2 separate regions of the Homo sapiens genome follow, and region 1 is linked to region 2. Evidence: promoter capture Hi-C in 16 types of primary human blood cells and fetal thymus (Javierre and others, 2016). All regions are on one chromosome and are shown on one strand. Each heading gives the region's core, a stretch centred on a gene start or on the middle of the fragment in contact. The rest is flanking DNA. Distances are from core to core; before and after follow the strand shown. Region 1 overlaps NARS2 (asparaginyl-tRNA synthetase 2, mitochondrial). Region 2 holds the start of KCTD21 (potassium channel tetramerization domain containing 21).

Region 1 (3,386 bases), core at 569-3,068, 260 kb after region 2:
ATTCTAGCCTGGGCGACAGAGCAAGACTCTGTCTCAAACAAAACAAAAAAAAAAAAAAGGGTGATAAGAAAATAATATATCTGCAAGACTAAGTCTGAAAGAAAAAATATAGGAAAATAAAATAAAGAATACAGATTATAGAATGGATAAACCAATAAGCTCATATAACTGATACAACTTTTCTGGTCAGCAATTTGGCAACAGATAACCAAACGCCTGAAAAATGCAATATGTTTTGACTCAGCAAGCAGTTCAAGGAACCTATCCTAAGAAAATCAGAGATGCAAAAAAAGATTAACATGCAAGATGTTTATTACAGCATTACTTATGACAAAAAGTTCAAATGTACATCAACAGACTATTAGATAAGTTTTAGACATGGATAGAAAAAAGACTATCATCTACATAATGAGATGTTGTGTTGCTACTGTGATGAGATTACAAGTATTTTAAAATTGTTTTCCTCTTTTATTTGTATTTTCTTATTTTCTATACTAAACAGGTATTATAGTTTTATAATAGAAAACATCAAAAAACTCTTAGTAAGGGAAAATGATAGCTTAATATTTTAATTTGTATTTCTTCAATTACTAATTAGTATTACTAAATTAATTATATTTCTTCAATTATTAAATTAGTAATATTTAATTTTTCAGGCCGGGTGCGGTGGCTTACGCCTGTAATCCCAATACTTTGGGAGGCCGAGGTGGGCGGATCACCTGAGGTCAGGAGTTCGAGACCAGCCTGGCCAACCTAGTGAAACCCCCTCTCTGCCAAAAATACAAAAATTAGCCAAGTGCAGTGGCGCATGCCTGTAGTCCCAGCTGTTCTGGAGGCTGAGGCACGAAGAATTGCTTGAACTTATGAGGCGGAGGTTGCAGTGAGCCAAGATCATGCCACTGTACTCCAGCCTGGATGACAAAGCGAGATTTTGTCTGTCTCCCAAAAAACAATTAAAAAAATTTTTTTTAAATGTTTATTTGTGGCTGGGCACAGTGGCATGTGCTTGTAGTCTTGGCTACTTGGGAAGCTGAGGTGGGAGGACTGCTTGAGGCCAGGAATTTGAGACCAGCCTGGGCAACACAGCAAGACTCCGTCCCTACAAAATAATTTTAAAATGTTTATTTGCAGCTAGGTGTGGTGGTGCATGCCTGTGGTCCCGGCTACTTGTCAAACTGAGGCAGGAATATCACTTGAGCCCAGGAGTTCGAAGTTACAGTCAGCCATGATTATACCACCTGTACTCTAGTCTAGGCGACAGGCAAGACCTTGTCTCAAAAAAATATATATATATTTATTTGCTATCTGTATTATTTTGTGACTTTCCTGTCTTTTGGGCAGGTAGACATTTTTAAGCCCAAGAACCTGAAGGTAAAAAACTAAGATTTCATGTAACAAATGAAAAATGAGAAATCCATAAAACACATTTTAATCTTTAAATGTCACATTACATTATAAACATTTTAAAAACTTTGCCTCACTTTGCCGTTAAGCCATCCCCTTCCCAGTTTTGATTTAGAAACTTTTGATTGAGATATACTTTATGAATAATCAACAATAAAGAATAATTCAAGATTGTACCCCCAGTGCTGTATACCTTATCCTCATTACTATGATTAAAGAGAAAAACATCAGCTCTGACCCTCATCACTAGGCTGAATCAGAGTGAGCAAGAACAGCTACACAATTAATATGGCTGGGCTCTAATCAGGACCCTGCAGTTATCCCTTCTGTCCTCAGAGCAAGGAGGAAGTCTGGTATCTTTATTTCCTGGTGTCTTGCTTTTAGATATGGCTAAAATATGATAGGAGTTGAGAGACACATGGTAAAAATTTTGTTCTTTTCTTACCTTCAATCCAGAGTGTTAAATTTAGAATTATAGGCAATCAACTTTGGAAAAGAATAGTCAACCAGTGGCTCTCTGGCTTCTGCTTGAAAATATTTAAAGCCTGAGAAACAGTATCCTTGAAACAGAGCATTTCATCCTTGTTTAGCTCTAAAATTAACTCAAAATGGATTAAAGATTTAAATATAAGATCTGAAATCATAAAACTACCAGAAATAAATATAGAGAAAAAGTTCTATGACATTAGTCTGGGCAATGATTTTTTTGGAGATGACTCCAAAAGCACAGACAACCAATGCAAAACCAGACAAATGAGACAGTATCAAACTAAAAAGTTTCTGCACAGCAAAGGAAACAATTAACAAAGTGAAGAGACAACTCAAAGAATGGGAGAAAATATTTGCAAACCATACATCTTATAAGGGGTTAATACCCAAAATACATAAGGAACTCATACAACTCAACAAGAAAATAACGTGATTAAAAAAAGGTAAAGGAACTGAACAGACATTTCTCAAAAAAAAAACAAACAAACATACAAATGACTAACAGGTGCAAGAAAAAATGCTCAAAATCACTAATTATTAAGAAAATGAAAAATAAAACCACACTGAGTTATCACTTCACACCTGTTAGTGTTTTTTTTTTTCTTCCTACATTTATATTTTTAAATAGAGATGGGGTCTTGCTGTGTTGCTCAGGCTGGACTTGAACTCCTGGGTTCAAGCGATCTCCTGCCTCAGCCTCCTAAGTAGCTGGGATTATAGGTACATGCCACCATCAGGCCCAGCTTTGAATGGCTGTTATAAAAAAGATGAAAAATAAGTTTGGAGAGGATACAGAGAAAAGGAACTCTTATACACTGTTGGTGGGAATGTAAATTAGTACCGTCATTATGAGAAATGGTATGGAAGTTCCTCAAAAACCTAAAAACAGAACATACACCTCAGCAATCCCACTTCTGGGTATATATATCCAGAAGAATAGAAATCAGTATATTGGTGGTGATATCTGCACTCTAATGTTCACTGCAGCATTACTCACAATAGTAAAGATACAGAAACAACCTACGTGCCCATCAACAGATGAATGGACAAATATTGTGTATATATATACACAATAAAATACTATTCAGCCTTAAGAAGGGGGTAAATCCAGTCACTTGTGACACATGGATGAATCCAGAGGATAATGTGCTAAGTGAAATATGCCAACCACAGAAAGACAAATACCACATAATTTCACTTACATATGGAATCTAATAAGCTGAATGAATAGAAATATATAATAGAATGATGGTTACCAGAGGCTGGAGTGGGAAGGAAGGGAACGAAGAGTTGCTGATCAAAGGGTACAAAGTTTCAGATGGACAGAGGAATGGGAGACAGGGGAATGAGTTATTAATCAAAAGGTGCAAAATTTCAGGCAGAAGAATAGATTTTGAGATTTATTACATACAAGGTGACTAGAGTCAACAATACATATTATATATTTTAAAATAACTAAGAGTAAATTTCAAATGTCTCACTATAAAAATGAT
Region 2 (3,647 bases), core at 720-3,219:
AAGTAGATACTATTATATACCTACTTTACAGACCAACCATACTGGGCCCTCTTCGACTTCTGCAATTTGGCATCTGCCATCCCCTCTGCCTGGACCTTGAAGACAAATCCCATGCATCGGCCAGGTCTCTCAGCTGGAATTCATTCCTTCTCCTCTGCATCTGCGGAGAATTTTAGTCTAACCCCTTACCACAGCCAACTTTACTTAAGTAGATGGATGCCTGGCTCCCTTGCTGGGGCTGGGGGTGCCCCTTTCTATATCCACAGAAGCACGTAGAATAGGGGAAGAGGAAGAAATTTCTCTCCTGTTTAGTCAGATCCATTTTCCCCACCTGGATTTTCAAAACTTTTTAATTTTGAAATGCTCTGTTCAATTTTCAATCTGGAATCTAAAGGGATGTGACAAGGCCGAGGTGATTACTTGGGAGTAAATGCAAGGAGAGTTTCCACTGCGTAAGGGAATGGACAGCACGTGGCTGGGTAAATTTCAAAAAAGACAATGCTCAGAGTGAGTACTGTGTTTTCCAGTAAGTGGGAGACTTCCCCACCTTACCCCACCGGAGAAAGGACTCTTTGCCTTGAAGCCCCTAGGACGACTACCCTTTCTTCACCTCCTCTTCCTGACCACCCCACATCAAAGAGCTGCGTCTATAATTCTGTCTTGCCCAGTCCATATCTCTAAGAAATCCGAAGGCTGCTCTATTACCATCACAACCCATAGGGAGGAGAGAAAAGGTGCTTCCTAGACACAGGGACCCCAGAATGAGCTGCGCAAAAGGCAGGAGGAGAGAAAGGTGGGCTGGAAGAAGGAGACCACGGAATCTGGCACGGCAAGGTATTCTTTCATCTGGCGTAGACCTCCAACAACCACTACCATCCCCCAGCCCCTTCCAGAACTTTCCTTCACCTTCTCGGCTCACTCTCACGCTTCACCTTGTGCTTTTCCTCCGGCACCAGCACCCCATTTCAAACCGCTCTCTTCCTATGTCTCCTCCAAACAGTAATTTATAAACACCGTGCTTTCAAATCCATCTCATTTCATCCTCACAGTACTATAGGAGGGCTGCCTTACAGGCTGTCATTCGGAAGGGTTGGGGGGACTGGTCCTGCCAGACAATTTGCGAAGGTCGGGGCATCAAAACTTTTCTTTCCTGCCTCCCACGCCAAGCTAAACCTCTGCCTCCCCGAGTGCAGGGAGAAAAGCAAGGTCTTTGAAGTAAGGAGTCCTGAGTGGTTTTAGGCAAGTCCCTTCGCTTTTCTGAGCCTCACATTCCTCACCTGTCAACCGCTATAGTGACGCCTCTACTTTTCAGGGCGTGGGAGGTCAATGAGATCACTGGTGTGCCGCACTGAACTCGGGGATGGACTCTTTATTTCCAGTCAGTAAAGGGAGGTGTTCTATGCATCACAGGCTTTTGCCCACGCCGCCACAGCGCGGCCGGCCCAGGGCTCTCCAGAGCGGGGCAAGTTCCCTGTCATCTGTGTCTCCGCCCTTCCTTCCCCAATCTCACCCAGGCTGGCCTCATCGGCTTGTTCCGCACCCACTCCCCAGCCCTACAGCCCCCACTCCGACCTGACAAGTGCCCCACCCCCACCTAGAGATCCCGCCTCTCCTTGCCCCACCCACCAAGGACTCCTCCCACAGTCCCGACCCTCATTATCCGGGCTTTTCCGACTATCACCATCCGCCCTTGCTCTCCCAACAGCCCCGCCCCTCTAAGAGCTCTGCCCACTTCGGCTCACCTCGCTCCGAAACGCGCCCCCTCCCCCGCACCACAGGCGATGCCATCCCCATTTCACAGATGGGAATGGCGAGGCTGGGATAGATTAGTCTCATGGTAAGACAGGTGCTCAGTGGGCCCACGTACCCTCGCCGGTAGTCCCCGAGCCCCGCGACCCCGGCCGTGCCGCACCCACCTCCTGCCCTCGCTCTGCAGCCTCTCCCTCCGCGAGCGGCCAGCGCAGCTTTGCGAGGGGGGCGGAGGGTAGGAGCCCAGCCCAGGGGCGTGGCGGTCCGGGGTCTGTGCGCTGCCTTCCGGGACTGGTAGTTCTCTCTGGGCTCCTCGCAGCTCGGCGCGTCGAGAGCGAACTCCATCTCCCAGGAGGCATTGCAGCGAGTTGCTCTGCGCCCCGCCTCGTCCCCGCCGGTGTCCGGCCGGCTGGCCTTAAAGGGGACGCGGTCAGAGTGGCAGCTCGCGGGGTGGCCCCCGCTCCGGCTCCGCCCCATTTCACGCACCTCGCCCCTCCCCATGCTTCATCCCGCAGCCCCGGGGCCGCGCCGCAGAGTCGGGCTTCCTGGATACATAGAGGCTTGTGCCAGGCGGGGTGGGAAGACTGGATTTTGCAGTGGAAGCAGCATCTCTTCCGTCTGGGACCTGGCTGAGGGCGTCCCCACCCTGGGGGGAGCAGAGGACCAGCCCTGACCTAGCCGGGCCCAGCCTCGTCCTGCCCGGCCTGAGCGCCCCGCCCAGCAGCCGGCTCTGGCCCACCGGGGTCCGGGAGGTAAGGGGGTTGGGGGCGTGTGACTGTCTTTGGGGGGCGGTGTCTGCACCCTGGCCTTTCGAGAACCCTGGACTTGCGAGCCCAGGGCTGGGAGTCGGGAGATCTGGGTGCATCCTGGGCCTCCTGGGCCTCACTGTGTGACCTTGGGCGAGTAGCTATTCCTCTCTGGGCATTAATCCCCTCCCTTCATCAATTGTATGTCGAAGTGATCCTGCTCCCTCCCCTTTCAGGTAAGAGGGCATTCGCACCCAGTACCTAGTACATTCGCTTGCTGGCTTTTCGTGGGGCCCTCCAGCTCAAGCGTGGGCTGGGCGCGGGTGCACTGGAGGGAGGGAGGTGGCACAAACTGGGGGGCCCGAGGCCACCATTGCTTGGAATGGGCTTTTCCTATTCTCAGTGTGCTGGGCCCTGGGATACCCTCCCCAACCCCCTCTTACGGCCCTGGCCCTTGCAAACCGGAGACCCTGATGTGTCAGCTTGGTGCCCTTCCTTCCAGAAAGCTTGGGGTGGAGTGCGGCCCTCACAGGTTTGTGAGGGGTGGCCCCGCAGGGATAGGTGTGTGTGGTGGGTTCCTGAGGAGGAATAGCTGCTCCTGCTTTCTTCCCTTCTCTCTCCTCCTTATCCTTTGAGGAAGAGCAGCTGCTTTTTACCAGTGAAACCCTTTTTTCTTTTTCTTTCCAGGAGACAGTTTGGTGGCCCAGACATGGGCCTCCCGGAGTAGGGTGAAGCACTTCTTCCCAGGGTTGCCTTGGGTAGAAGTTCAGTTAAAAAATACCTAGAGAGATGCTGCCATTCAGACACCTGAGGGGCCAGAGATGGAGGGCACCACCTGGTGTCGGGAGGGGCAGCCTGGTACCCCCAAGGAAGCTCTGGCTCCCAGGGGAGTCAAAGGAGGGAGGCTGGCTTCGAGGGTCAGAGAGGGGAGGAAATGTGCTCCTCAGCTCTTAGGTGCTGAGCAGAGGCTGGGAGGGGCTGCTCTGACCTGGAGCAGGGAGAGGTTGAGTAACACCATGAAGCCTTCTTCTCAGGTCCTAGGAGATTCTGTGAGCTTTTGACCTGAAGGCTAACCAGGAACAGATTTTTGTTTTGTTTTGTTTTGTTTTTGTTTTGTGCTTTTTCTTTTGCTTTGGTTGTTTGAACAATTTC

What was found. The method cuts DNA at HindIII sites, captures the fragments that hold promoters and counts their contacts. A CHiCAGO score of 5 or more calls a contact.
Region 1: a fragment that was not itself captured here is called in contact with the fragment with the promoter of KCTD21 in region 2 in 3 of 17 cell types (neutrophils, fetal thymus and monocytes); the score reaches 8.1 in neutrophils.

What each region holds. Positions count from the first base shown.
Region 1 is chr11:78,444,684-78,448,069 of GRCh38, forward strand. All of the region lies in intron 11 of NARS2 (asparaginyl-tRNA synthetase 2, mitochondrial), which reads right to left. Among named protein-coding and RNA genes, the nearest start is that of LINC02728, 17 kb to the left of the region's middle. The HindIII fragment of the contact is 6,277 bases long and covers 1-3,386 here.
Region 2 is chr11:78,186,657-78,190,303 of GRCh38, forward strand. KCTD21 (potassium channel tetramerization domain containing 21) reads right to left here and starts at 1,970. Exons shown (of 2, transcript NM_001029859.3): 1 at 1,917-1,970. USP35 (ubiquitin specific peptidase 35) reads left to right here and starts at 2,263. Exons shown (of 11, transcript NM_020798.4): 1 at 2,263-2,501. RefSeq lists silencers at 1,687-2,026, 2,457-2,616. The HindIII fragment of the contact is 4,363 bases long and covers 1-2,999 here.